2 separate regions of the Homo sapiens genome follow, and region 1 is linked to region 2. The links are contacts of gene promoters, found by promoter capture Hi-C in blood cells and fetal thymus (Javierre and others, 2016). All regions are on one chromosome and are shown on one strand. Each heading gives the region's core, a stretch centred on a gene start or on the middle of the fragment in contact. The rest is flanking DNA. Distances are from core to core; before and after follow the strand shown.

Region 1 (6,581 bases), core at 359-2,858, 260 kb after region 2:
GGAAAATATCACTACATTCTCATTATTTTTCTTATGTTGCTTCAAACCAATAAAAACATCCTATTTTCTTTTTTTTTTTTTGAGACAGAGTTTCACTCTTCTTGCCCAGGCTGGAGTGCAGTGGCGCAATCTCAGCTCACTGCAACCTCTGCCTCCCAGGTTCAAGCGATTCTCCTGCCTCAGCCTCCCAAGTAGCTGGGATTACAGGTGCACACCACCATGCCCGGCTAAACGTTTTTGTATTTTTAGTAGAGACGGGGTTTCACCATGGCCAGGCTGGTCTTGAACTCCTGACCTCAGGTGATCTGCCCGCCTCGGCCTCCCAGGGTGCTGGGATTACAGGCATGAGCCACTGCGCCCGGCCAAAACATTCTATTTTCTATAGACAAACATTAGAGCCATGGTTCTTATGATCAGAGATAAGCGATTTGAGGGAAAACAAGCCTTTACCTACACTCTCTAAAAGACAGAGGCTACAAGGCCTCTGAGGCTTTTAGATAAGCTCAGTAGTTCAAGTCCCAGCAATCAGCCAAGCAAACTCAAAGGCATCACAATAGCTCTAGCTTTCCTAAACACAGGGGTGCTCTACTTAAAAAGAGTCATAAGAAAATGTAAACTTACAGTATCAACAAACACAGCAGAGGTTATGTATACTGTAAAAATGACCTTAGTTCTGCAAAAGCTTCCAGTGGTAAACTGTCCTCAAAAATCAATCTCACATGGTATAAGGAAATACTCCAGTCTCTAAAAGTGGTCCAGTCCATTTGCTCATTCAGTAAATAGGTATTGAGCAGCCATTGTGTGCTACATGCCAAGGATCAAGTGGTGAGCAAAACAGATGGAGCCCCAAAATTCATTAAGTTTACCATGTAAAGGGCGACAAATATGAAACAAATTCATAATTATATAAATAGACATATGTAAGTACAACTGCTGTGGAAGAGAACCAAAGGGAGCTGTAATTTGAATTGTGAGTTCAGAAAAGGCCTGAGGATAAGTAGGAGTTAGCCAGAGAGTCACAATAATCTCAAACAAAATAAAGAAGAGAAAGATCATCTTATAGCATTATCAGTATCCAATGGACAGGAATGCAGGGCACTTTATTCAGTGGCTTTCCTTGAAAGTTATTCCATGCAACCCAATTCCAGACCATGTGTACTGTTCTGCTCCCAGGAAGACCTCAGAAGAGTCCCAAGAGCTCTTTTTAAATACCCAGAAGCCAAAGAAGGGCCATACACACAGAAGTACCTTGAATGTAGCGGTTTTAATCAGTAAGGAACACAGTGCTCTGCACAGTTTACATACTCAAGACACAGTGGCTGTATTTATTTATTGACTGACTTTTACCCAACTGATGATGCTTGAAGATATTGAGGTTAACACTTCTGCTCCATGAACTAATTATCAGTCTTAAAACAGCCCTGCGCTGGGGGCTGGGCTGGGGAATGACCCTTCATAAAACTGTCAGCACATACAGCCCTGTCACAACTTAAGACACACCTGACATACTGTAGATTTGTTTATTGTCTATCTCTTCCCACTAGAATATAAATTTCATGAAAACAGGGATTTTCATCTGCTTTGTTCACTGCTATATTCCTGACACCTAGAACAATGCCTGGCATAGAGTAAGCACTCAATAAGTATCAGTTCAGTGAATGAATGCTGTCTGACCAATGCTCCTTCATTTATTATTTATTTTTTACCTTTGGACTACAGTGATGCGTGGAGGCAGAATTGTATTCAGATGTATGGAGGAAGGGACTTCCTTCCCTAAAGTTGTCAGCAGAATTGTATTCAGGTGTACAGAGGAAGGTACTTCCTTCCCTAAAGTTCTCCCCCTCTCCGTGGCAGTGTGCTAGGCTATGGTGCGTGGCTGTTTGCTGGCTCTCTGTAAGAGGATTACACAGTCCCATCTGTTGCCTGAGGATATGCAGGATCTCATGTAAACAGAGTACCCCCCAGCACACACACACAAACACACACATCCTAGCAGGGCTTTGAGAGCGATAGTGTGGTGGGCTCTGTGTTTTCCCCTCTTCTCTTGCTTATGAGAACAGCTGGTTCCTTATCTGAGCTGCTCCTTCAGCCTGGGCCCCAGACTCAAGACCCCAGCCCACCACAGCTAGCATGTAATGTAAGTGAGAAATAGATGTGTCTTATTGTAAGTCACTTAAATTTGGGGGTTGTTACTACAGCAAAGAAGCTAATAAGCCAGTCATTAATTTTTTGGGAGAGTGAGAATTAAGGAGAGGCAGAAAAACAAGAAAACATAAGAAAGCCGTCTACAAAAACTTACTAGAGAGGAAATAACGAGGACGTCTCAAGCTGCAATTTAAGTAAATGGGGAAATGACCCATTTACAAAAATTAATTTATACACAGTCCTTAGGAACAAATCTTTTTACATATGTCAACATGCCTATACTTTATAAAAATACTTAACGAATATTAGAAAATCAAACCTTGAAATGAATTGAAGAAGGCTACAATGTTGGGATGTTTCATCTTTTCCAGAAGAATCACTTCTTTCTTTGAAGCTTCTTTTTCTTGTATGGGCATCTAAATTACATTAAGAGACAGAGTAGTCTATAAAGCTAACTTGGTTTCAAGAACATGCTTTCTGCTCATTTCCATCTAAAATTCTCTAGGATTTCACTGGCTTTTAATGTCACTTTGAAAACGATCTTTCAATGGCAGGAAACAACATTTCTAGAATTAGCAGAGTGCCCTACATCTCATCAATGGTTTGTTGACAACCATCATCAAGAAAATAAATATTTCTGGTGAAGTTTTGCTATATTAAAAGTTGGACTGGTGGTACCGTGTTCATTATCTAGCCATATGGAGCCATATTTTAATATCTATCTTTCAGTAGCGAAGGAATTCTTTATAAAAATGCAACATTCCAGGAGCAATCACTGCTGAGAAGAAACAAATGAAATCTAAAAAAAGAAAATGTGTCATATCCCACAGAAATCAGGTCAGTAAAATTTTGTATTAAGATGACTACATTTTTCATTTTCAAATAAAAATTGTCTTGCATGACTTCATTTTAGAAGTATTTGGGTGTATTTTCTTGTTCTACTTTCACCTATAGACAATACTTGCCAAGGGGTTTGGTGCCAGTACCAGTGGCCACACCTCATTTCTACTTTTTCTTCCTCACTCTTGATGCTTTGCTGACTTGTCATTTCTACCCTGACTTCCAGCCCCTGACTGCCCCGCTTTTCTGATGTCCACGGGGCCTCCACCCATTAGAGGTCTTCAACATTGGCCAGATTTCTCATTCTCATTTAGACTTAAGAACTTCTTAAAAATTAATATTCTCAATTCTAGCTTCCCTACATCTCAGCTGAAGGATCCTTCAGTAAGTTCCTTAAACCCCTCTAAGCTTCAGTGTTTCCTGCCCCAATTTAAATTGTATAGTCAGTACATAGGAGTTTCAAAACAAAAACAGCTAAATTACTCCTACCAGCTGGATACATTTAGCAACTTAAAAAATTCCTAACTACTATTTATTTAAAAGAATATTATAAACAAAATTAAAAGACAAACAAAAGGATAAGATACAATATTTGTACCATATATGACAAATATATTTATAATATAAAAATTGATGGCAAATAATTTTTAAAAAGGCAAACACCCCAACAGAAAAATAGCAAAGTACAAGAATAGTCAACTCGAAAAAAAAAGAGAAATAAAAATGGCTGATAGAAAAAATATTCAATCTCATGCAGTAATCAAAGGAATAAAAACTAAAGCAAAATTTGGCTGGGTGTGGTAGCTCATGCCTGTAATCCCAGCTCTTTGGGAAGCCAAGGCAGGCAGATCACTTGAGGCCAGGAGTTCAAGACCAGCCTGGCCAACATAGCAAAACCCTGTCTCTACTAAAAACACAAAAAATTAGCCAGGCGTGGTGGCACACACCTGTGGTCTCAGCTACTCAGGAGGCTGAGGCAGGAGAATCCCTTGAACCTGGGAGATGGAGGCTGCAGTAAGCCAAAATCACACCACTGCACTCCAGCCTGGGTGACAGAGTAAGACTCCATTGCAAAAAAAAAAAAAAAGGAATAAAAGCTAAAACAAAATGTAATATAGTATTCCATGTATGAAACTGGCAAAGATGAAAAGAATGTCAATAACTACTATTGGCCAGAAAGCAGCAAAATGGACACTCATTTATTTCTGGTAAAACTACACAAATTGATAAAATATTTCTGGGAAGGCAGTTTTACAATATATAATATGAATCTTTAAAATGTTCATTTTTGTGGGGGGTCTGTATCCTGCTGAAGAAATCTTTTTTTTTTTTTTTTTAAGACAAGGTCTTGCTCTATCACCCAGGCTGGAGTGCAGTGGCATGATCTTGGTTCACTGCAGCCTCTGCCCACTGAGCTCAAGTGATCCTCCCACCTCAGCCTCCTGAGTAGCTGAGACCACAGGCAAGCACCATCATACCCGGCTAATTTTTTGTATTTTTAGTAGAGATGGGGTCTCACCATGTTGCCCAGGCTGCTCTCGAACTCCTGGCCTCAAGTGATCTAGCTGCCTCAGCCTCCCAAAGTGCTGGGATTACAGGCATGAGGGAAATGTTCCTATTTTTGACTAATTCTTCTAGAAATTTATCCAAAGAAGATAATAAAAGGGTACAGAAGAGTTCTCATACAAAAGACTTTGTTACAGTGTTTTATTGCTAGTTTTTAAGTTACTCTAATAATGCACGCTTGTTTTAAGTCAAATAGAAGTGAATAAGGTAAAAGTGAAACTTCCCTCTTTCTTTCTCATCTAGCCCACAGACGAAAGCCCATAGGTGGTAACCTTACTCTTAATGGCAAAAATGCAATTACTTTTGCGCCAACCTAATACTATATTCCCTAGGGATAACTGTTGTTAATAGTTAGAGCTTTTTATTTCATGCATATATAGGCAAGCATATATACATAGTTTTGTTTAATAAAAATGAATCATACTTTACATATTAAATGCTATTGAATCGTAGCCAAAAAACCAACCAAACAATGTAATTATCTGAAAATAGAAAAAGAGTTAAATAAATTACAGGGGTGTTTTGCTAGCTTTTTTTTTTTTTTTAAGACAGAGTTCTGCTATGTTGTCTAAGCTGGATTTTAACTCCTGGGGTCAAGGGATCCTCCCAACTCATCCTCCAGAATAGCTGGGACTACAGGCACTTGCCACCATGCCCAGCTAAATTATGGTATTTTTGACCTGCTACCACTTTAATGCTATGCAGTCATTAAAAATAAAGGGAGGCAATGTAGTATCATGGAAAGAGCAGAGAAAGACTTAGATGGATCTGCTGATTACTGTGCATCCTGGAGCTAACTGCTTAACCTCTTTAGCCTCAGCTCTTTCACTTGTACAGTGAGAGTAATGAGAGCTACCTTTTAAGTGGTTGTGAAGATTAAATTGAGTTGATATACATAATAAAACACCCAGGATGGTGTGACATATAATGGACACCCTGCAGGTGGTCCCTTTATCATTAGTGTGAACACATTTAATATCATTAAATGACAACATTTTATTATATAAAAATATTGAATGAGATGAGGAAATATTCACAATATATTGCTAATATAAAAAACTGTTACAAAAGAGTATACCTGGGCTGGGCGCAGTGGCTCACACCTGTAATCCCAGCACTTTGGGAGGCCAAGGCAGGCAGATCACGAAGTCAGTAGTTCGAGACCAGCCTGGCCAACATAGTGAAAGCCTGTTTCTACTAAAAATACAAAAATTAGCCAGGCATGGTGGCATGCGCCTGTAGTCCCAGCTACTCAGGAGGCTGAGGCAGGAGAATTGTTTGAACCTGGGAGGCAGAGATTGCAGTGAGCAGAGATCACGCCACTGCACTCCAGCCTGGGCAACAGAGCGAGACTCCGTCTCAAAAAAAAAAAAGAGTATATCTACCATGACACCAATCATTCTAATAACTTATATACTTATACATTAAAAATAGTCTAGAGAGAAATTCAGCAAAGTGTTCATAGTGATTAAGAAAGAGGTTATATGCTATTTTTATTTTCCTCTAAATGGTCTTATTTTCTCCTTTGGCTCTTTTCAAAATTTCTACAACGAACATTTTTATTTTCACAATTGAGGAAAGATAAAACACTTTTATTTGAGCCCAGAAGGAAAAGAACATGCTTGATAATGGTAGGATGATAAGAGAAATATTAGCTTTTTGGTACCTGTAAGAAAACAAGCAATTTAGTTCTGGGGTCTAGTGTAGGGAGTAGGGAGGCATTAGAGAGAAGAAATATAAATTTCTCTAGATAAGAAGTAATGAAAAACTACATGAGAGTAGATAGGAAGAAAGAAGTAATAAATGTTAATATTGTGACACAGATGTTATAGGTAAATTCGATAACATAAACAGATATGGGAAAACAAGAATAATGAGGTCTAATATAAGATTCTACTTATTTATGGCATAGTGACAAGAGTAGTTCATGAGTAAAGTGATGAAAAATTGGTGCTCTATTAGAAAAATATAGTCAATTTTTGATTATACTAAAGAATGGGAGAGATGCTATGAAATGCAGTAATGTTAAT
Region 2 (6,220 bases), core at 1,339-3,838:
ATAATCTCTCACCTCAGGCTGACTTTGAGGCTCTCACAAGAAGGAAGCGAAGGCTAGGCAGAATCATAAACTGCCTGCATGATCACTAAAGGTATGCCCAACCTGCACCCCCGACTCCCAACCAAACACACACACACACACACACACACACACACACACACACACACAGACACCCCCTCAGCAAAGGAAAGGAGACATCAGTTCATGGAGATCTCTGTCCAGTCATTAGCTGATCGTTAAGCTAATAAGCAGACTTTAATGCCCACACATGATAAAAAATATAGACTTCATAGAATTTGTCCAAGAAAGTCACTAAATGAACAAATAGCAACAGCAACAACAATAAATGCCACCAACAAAACTTGGGAGTGGAAATCTCATTTTTAGTTACTATATTATTTTAAGTGTCCAACTTCAACAAAATTTTTTGAGGCATAAAGAAACAGGAAACCCTTTATTGCAAACAGAGTTATATATAAAGGGGGAAAAGCAGACAGTAGAAACTGTTATTCTATTTTTTTTTTTGTTTTGAGACAGGGTCTCACTCTGTCACCCAGGCTGGAGTGCAGTGGCACGATCATAGCTCACTGCAGCTCGACCTCCTGCACTGAAATGATCCTTCCTTCCTCAGCCTTCCAAGCAGCTGGGACTACAGGCATGCACCACCACAACTGACTAATTTATTTTAGTTTTGTAGAGACAGGGTCTTGTTATGTTGCTCTGGCTGGTCTCAAACTCCTACCAGGAGGACGCTCAAACCATCCTCCCTCCTCGGCCTCCCAAAGTGCTAGGATTACAGGCATGAGCCACCATGCCTGGCCTGAAACTGTTATTCTCTGAGTAATTGTCTTTTTGGTTATAAACTGTCTCTGAGGAATTGCAGATATTGGGCGATTAAACCAAGATTTTTAGTCAGCTATTACAAATGTAGTTAAAGAACTAAAAGAAACCATTCCAAAAGAATTAAAGGAAAACAAGGCCAGGTGTGATGGCTCACACCTATAATCCCAACAGTTTGGGAAGCCGAATGGGTAGATCACTTGAGCCTAGAAGTTTGAGGCCAGCCTGGGCAACATGGAGAAACCTTATCTCTAAAAAAACACAAAAAATTAGCTAGGTCTGGTGGCGCACGCCTGTAGTCCCAGCTACTTGAGAGGCTGAGGTGGGATGATCACTTGAGTCCAGGAAATTGAGGCTGCAGTTAGCCAAGATCATACCATGCCATTGCACTCCAGCCTGAGTGACAGAAACATGTCTCAAAAAAAAAAAAAAAAAGCATTAAAGGAAAGAATTAAAAACTATGCCTTACCAAAAAGAGACAGAAAAGTATGTGTGCATACATATATATATGTGTGTGTGTATATATATATATACACACACACACACTTTGTATACATATACTTTTATATAGATATATAGAAAAAATATATATATAGAAGTGTGTGTGTGTGTGTGTGTGTATATATATGTATATAGAAAAGCACATATATCCTTTTCTATATATAACCAAACAAATTCTGGAGACACAGTGAAAATTTCTGGAGAAATTCTGGATGGACTAGGGGTCCACTGACAGATGAATGGATAAAGAAATTGCAGCATGTATATAAAGTGGAATATTATTCAGTCATAAACAGAGAATCCTGCCGTTTGTCACAAGATAGATGAAACTGGAGAATATTATGCTAAGTGAAATAAGCCAGACACAGAAAGAAAAATGCTGCACAACTTCACTTATATGTAGAATATTAAAAAAATTAAAAAGAAGAAGTAAGAAAAAAGTCAAATACACAGACAAAGAATAAAATGGCAGCTGCTACGTGTGGGGAGTGGACGGGAAGAGGGAAATCAAAGGGTACAAAGTTGCAGATATATAGGATAAATAATTTAGAGATCTAAGGTACAACATGAGGACTGTAGTTAATAACACTGTATTAAAGATTTTTGCTAAGAGAGTAGATTGTGGGTGCTCTTGCTACAGTGCACAAAAAAGGGTAACTATATGAGATGATGGATATGTTAATTTACTTGACTATTTAAAAATTTTACTACATGACAAAAATTCTGGAGTTGAAAATGAAAAATTAAAGAGGGATTCAACAGCATATTTGAACTGACAGAAGAAAAAAATCCATGAACTTGTAAACAGGTTAATTGAGATTATCTAATCTAAGCAACAGAAAGAAAAAAGAATGAAGAAAAATGAACGTAACTTTAGAGACCTGGGGGACACACTCACGCTACTAGTATTCACATAATATGAGCCCTAGAAGGAGAGGAGACAGAGAAAATGGATGAAAGAATATTTGAAGAAATAATGGCCAAAAACTTCTGAAATTTGATGAAAAACGGCATCAAATCTGCATATCCAAGAAGCTCAACAATCTCCAAGTAGAATAAACCTCAAGACCAAGACACATCATAGTCAAACTATCAAAAGCCAAAGACGAAGAATCTGGAAAGCAGCAAGAGAAGTGATTCATCCCACACAAAGCCCCCACCAGAACATGACTTCCTAGAACCATGCTCCCGGAACCAATGCTGACAGAATCTAAGGTAACAATCACTTGTGAGTCATCAACAGCACTGCCCTATCAGTGAAGTCAAAGATTGAAGAGGAACTCTTTCAAACCTTTCAAGTGCCCCCTCCTTTCCTTAAAGTCTTTTATAGGGGTCCCCTTCTTGGCCATCTCCATCCTGTGAGTCAGGACTGAAAGGGCACAGACAGGTCACTGCCAGCATTGTTGGGGCAAGCCTGCAAGCACGCATCACTGGGGATCTGACATGACAATGGCCGCCTGCCCCCTCTGAGGGCTACAGGACTTACCCCAGTGGGAAGCAGCTAAGCAGTAAGTAACTGTTGGCTTTAGACTGTATAGTATTTGTTCTAAGCATAAGGTAATATATAATATTTTCCTTAAAAAGAAGCTCCTAGTCTTACAGTATAACTGAAAACTGGGCATGTATCTTTAGTGCATGTTTTTACAGCTATACAGATACACATCTACAGTTTTATATTGTACTTTATATTTTAATACACATCTACCTATTTGATATGGTTCTTATTTTCTTTCTTTCTTAAAGAAAGTTTAGTGTTCACTTGAGAAAAACTTGGAGGTGAATGTTTTCCAACATCCTAACCCAGTAGACGCCCATTCATCCAGCTACTATTTCCTGAACACCTATCCTGTGGCAGAACATTTCGCTGGATGCCAGACATAGAGATGGAAGATGAGGTGTTTCTAGTGGGACAGGAAGGGCACATGCTCAGTCTGAGCTTAGGAGAGATGGCCTGGAGGAGGTATCTGAGTGCTGAAGGATTCGCTAGGTGAACTGAAGTGAGGTTGGGCAAGGATATCCAGGGAGAGGGGGCCAGCATGACATGGAAGTGAGGGAGGACTTCACATATTGGAGGGATTCTAGGCAAAGAGCCATACAACATAGAAAATCAAATTTCCAAAATGCAGTTCAATTCAGTTCAATTCAACCAACATTTTCACCAATTCCCTCCTATATAGGCGGCGTTATATTATGATAGCTGCTGGGTTACAGAGATGTCAGGAAGACATGTCCACACCTAATTTCAATCAAGTGTGACAAGTAATAGTGGAGTAACAGACAGACAGTATCGCAGAGGTGGCGAGGAACTTTGTCTGGAGGGTCCGAGTAGCTTTCAGAGGGGAAAGGATGTACAGGAATTCAAGCCCACCACAGGAACAAAAGGGGCTCTCAGTAGAGGATGCGACATGTGCTTCACCACACAGGCAGGAAACTGCAGGCAGAGTGCCAAGAGCTGAATAGAGCCCGTTAATACTGGGCCTTAGATTTGGAGTTGGGTGCAGGCTGGGTAGGAAGGAGAGGGAGAAGCAAGCTGGAGTTGGGCTGCACAAGGCCTTCCTAGGGCGTTCAGCTTTGATCTTTGGGCTACAGGGTCTTTGAAGGTGTGTGAACTGATGTGATAGGACGAGAGAGTGTTCTAGAAAACACCTGTAGGGCTACAGTGCAGGGGCAGATGAGAGGGTAAGATCAATACAGAGAGCAGCGAGACTGTTACAGGCATCCTGGCCTGACCTGGCTGTCATGGGGGAGATGGAACAGGGGCATGGTTTCAGGAAATGTTAAGGATCTGGATCTCGGCTAGGAGGGCTTGATGGTTGAGGAGAGAAGTCTGGTGAGGGAGAGGGAAAGGTCAAGGATGTGCCCCTGGTTCTGGTTTGTGTGACTGGATGGATGGTGATGCCACCAGCTGTCCACAGCCTAGCCACTGTGTCTTCATATGCACGCGCACACAGACACACACACACACACACACACACACACACACACACACCAGCTATGTGTCTTTTCTCCTCCTCCACTCCCTGTTCCTAAACCAGAAATGGAAAAATACAGAGAAAGCCCTGAAAATTTCCCCAATAGGTCTCACGGATGATGGGTTGGTGAGATCCACTGAGTGAGGGCCGGACCCTGGCAGCTTCCTCCAGAAAGCACAAAATGGAAAACAATGCTGTCAGCATGTGCCTGCACTCCTTATCTGACAACACTGAGCTCTTTACTGCACTCTAACCACCTTCCTATGTCCAGCACTTTTTCTCATCCCTTGATTCATGTTTGTAGTTACAGGGATTGCTATGGATAATTCTGCTATCTGATTCCTCAGATATATGGCAATGTTTGAAGATCTTTCTCCTTCCCTCCCTCCCTTCCTTCCCTCCCTTCCTTCCTTCCCTCCCTCTCTTTTTCTTTTCTTTTTTTCTTTTCCTTCTTTCTTCCTCCCAGCTTTTATTTTATTGTGAAATATACTGTATTGACTGGGGTACATAAAATATCCATGTACCACTTAACACATTTTTATAACAACACACATGAAACCGCCACCAAGCAAAGAAAGAGTCCTGCTAGCACTGCAGAAGCCTCTCTCAAGTACTCACCTAATCACACCCCTTAGTCTCACCTCCTCATCCCACACTCCAAATCCTCCCACACCAGCAACTATTACTCTGACTTTGGGACTCACTTCCTTGCTTTTCTCTTTCTGTGTTGAAGTATGTTCCCCTAGACAATGGCATTTAGTCTTGCTTGTTTGGAACTTCATTCTTTGAAATTCCCTGATCCTGCTTCTCTCTTTCAGCATTGGGTTTATAAGATTTACCCATGCTGTTGTAGGCAGCCATGCTGTCTGCCATGTGGATATACTGCCATTTTTTATTCCACTCTATTGGGATGGTCATTGGATTGTTTCCAGAGTTGAGCTCTTATGAACAAAGCTCCTTGAACACACTTGTACATGTATCCTAGTCACAGTTCCTAAGTTTCCTCAGGGTTTATACCTGGGACTGGAGCTGCGGGTCATCTGGTGTCTTTCTTATTGTTCCATATTACTAAATATTGTGTGAGGGCCTTCTTGGTCCATGTCCCTGGAAACATTCACCATCGTCTCTCACCTTTTTGTTTTAAACCACTTTTCCCAAAATAAACTCCTCTCCTAAAATACACTCTCCTCCTCCCCTCTGAGGTCAGTGGGCCTGTCTTCTGTGTCCCAGGCTCGTAACAGAGGACATTCACACGTGAGCATGCCCATAGGCAGATAGGAACAATTCTCAAGTGAGTACACCAAAACCTAAATTCATTCGGATTGATTTAACAAACGTAAATTCTTCTTGGCCTCATCATGTCACACCTATGTGTTCTGATACCCTAGTTGACAGCCACTGTCCTTCTTGGCTGAGTGTCTACGTTTTTAGCAGCCTTGAGCTTGAATGTACTGACTGCCTCTCCAGCTCAAAGCCATGACCACCCCACATGTTTTTCTACCAAAGCTTGTCCCTCACAAACACCACCATGTGGACAAAGAGCAGTGATTACATTTTCTCAAATTCAGTAGTACAGAACCAAGGGCCGTCCCCTGGCATGTGATACTCATAGATCTGTCTTTTCTGCTGCCCCCACAGGGTCTGACCAGCCGACCTGGACCTGGCCAAGGGTCCTGTCATCCCTCATGGCCACCCCGCCATTCCGGCTGATAAGGAAGATGTTTTCCTTCAAGGTGAGCAGATGGATGGGGCTTGCCTGCTTCCGGTCCCTGGCGGCATCCTCTCCCAGTATTCGCCAGAAGAAACTAATGCACAAGCTGCAGGAGGAAAAGGCTTTTCGCGAAGAGATGAAAATTTTTCGTGAAAAAATAGAGGACTTCAGGGAAGAGATGTGGACTTTCCGAGGC

Evidence for each region. The method cuts DNA at HindIII sites, captures the fragments that hold promoters and counts their contacts. A CHiCAGO score of 5 or more calls a contact.
Region 1: a contact is called between a fragment that was not itself captured here and the fragment with the promoter of CCDC70 in region 2, in 7 of 17 cell types (erythroblasts, naive CD4 T cells, total CD4 T cells and 4 more). The highest score is 9.0, in erythroblasts.

Annotation. Positions count from the first base shown.
Region 1 is chr13:52,116,855-52,123,435 of GRCh38, forward strand. NEK5 (NIMA related kinase 5) reads right to left here. Exons shown (of 24, transcript NM_001365552.1): 4 at 2,465-2,561. Among named protein-coding and RNA genes, the nearest start is that of NEK5, 8.9 kb to the right of the region's middle. RefSeq lists a silencer at 5,497-5,703. The HindIII fragment of the contact is 1,857 bases long and covers 681-2,537 here.
Region 2 is chr13:51,859,381-51,865,600 of GRCh38, forward strand. CCDC70 (coiled-coil domain containing 70) reads left to right here and starts at 2,589. Exons shown (of 2, transcript NM_031290.4): 1 at 2,589-2,849; 2 at 5,952-6,220. The coding sequence starts at 6,032. It also overlaps a transcript of TMEM272 not described here. RefSeq lists an enhancer at 2,191-3,390. The HindIII fragment of the contact is 6,103 bases long and covers 1-5,817 here.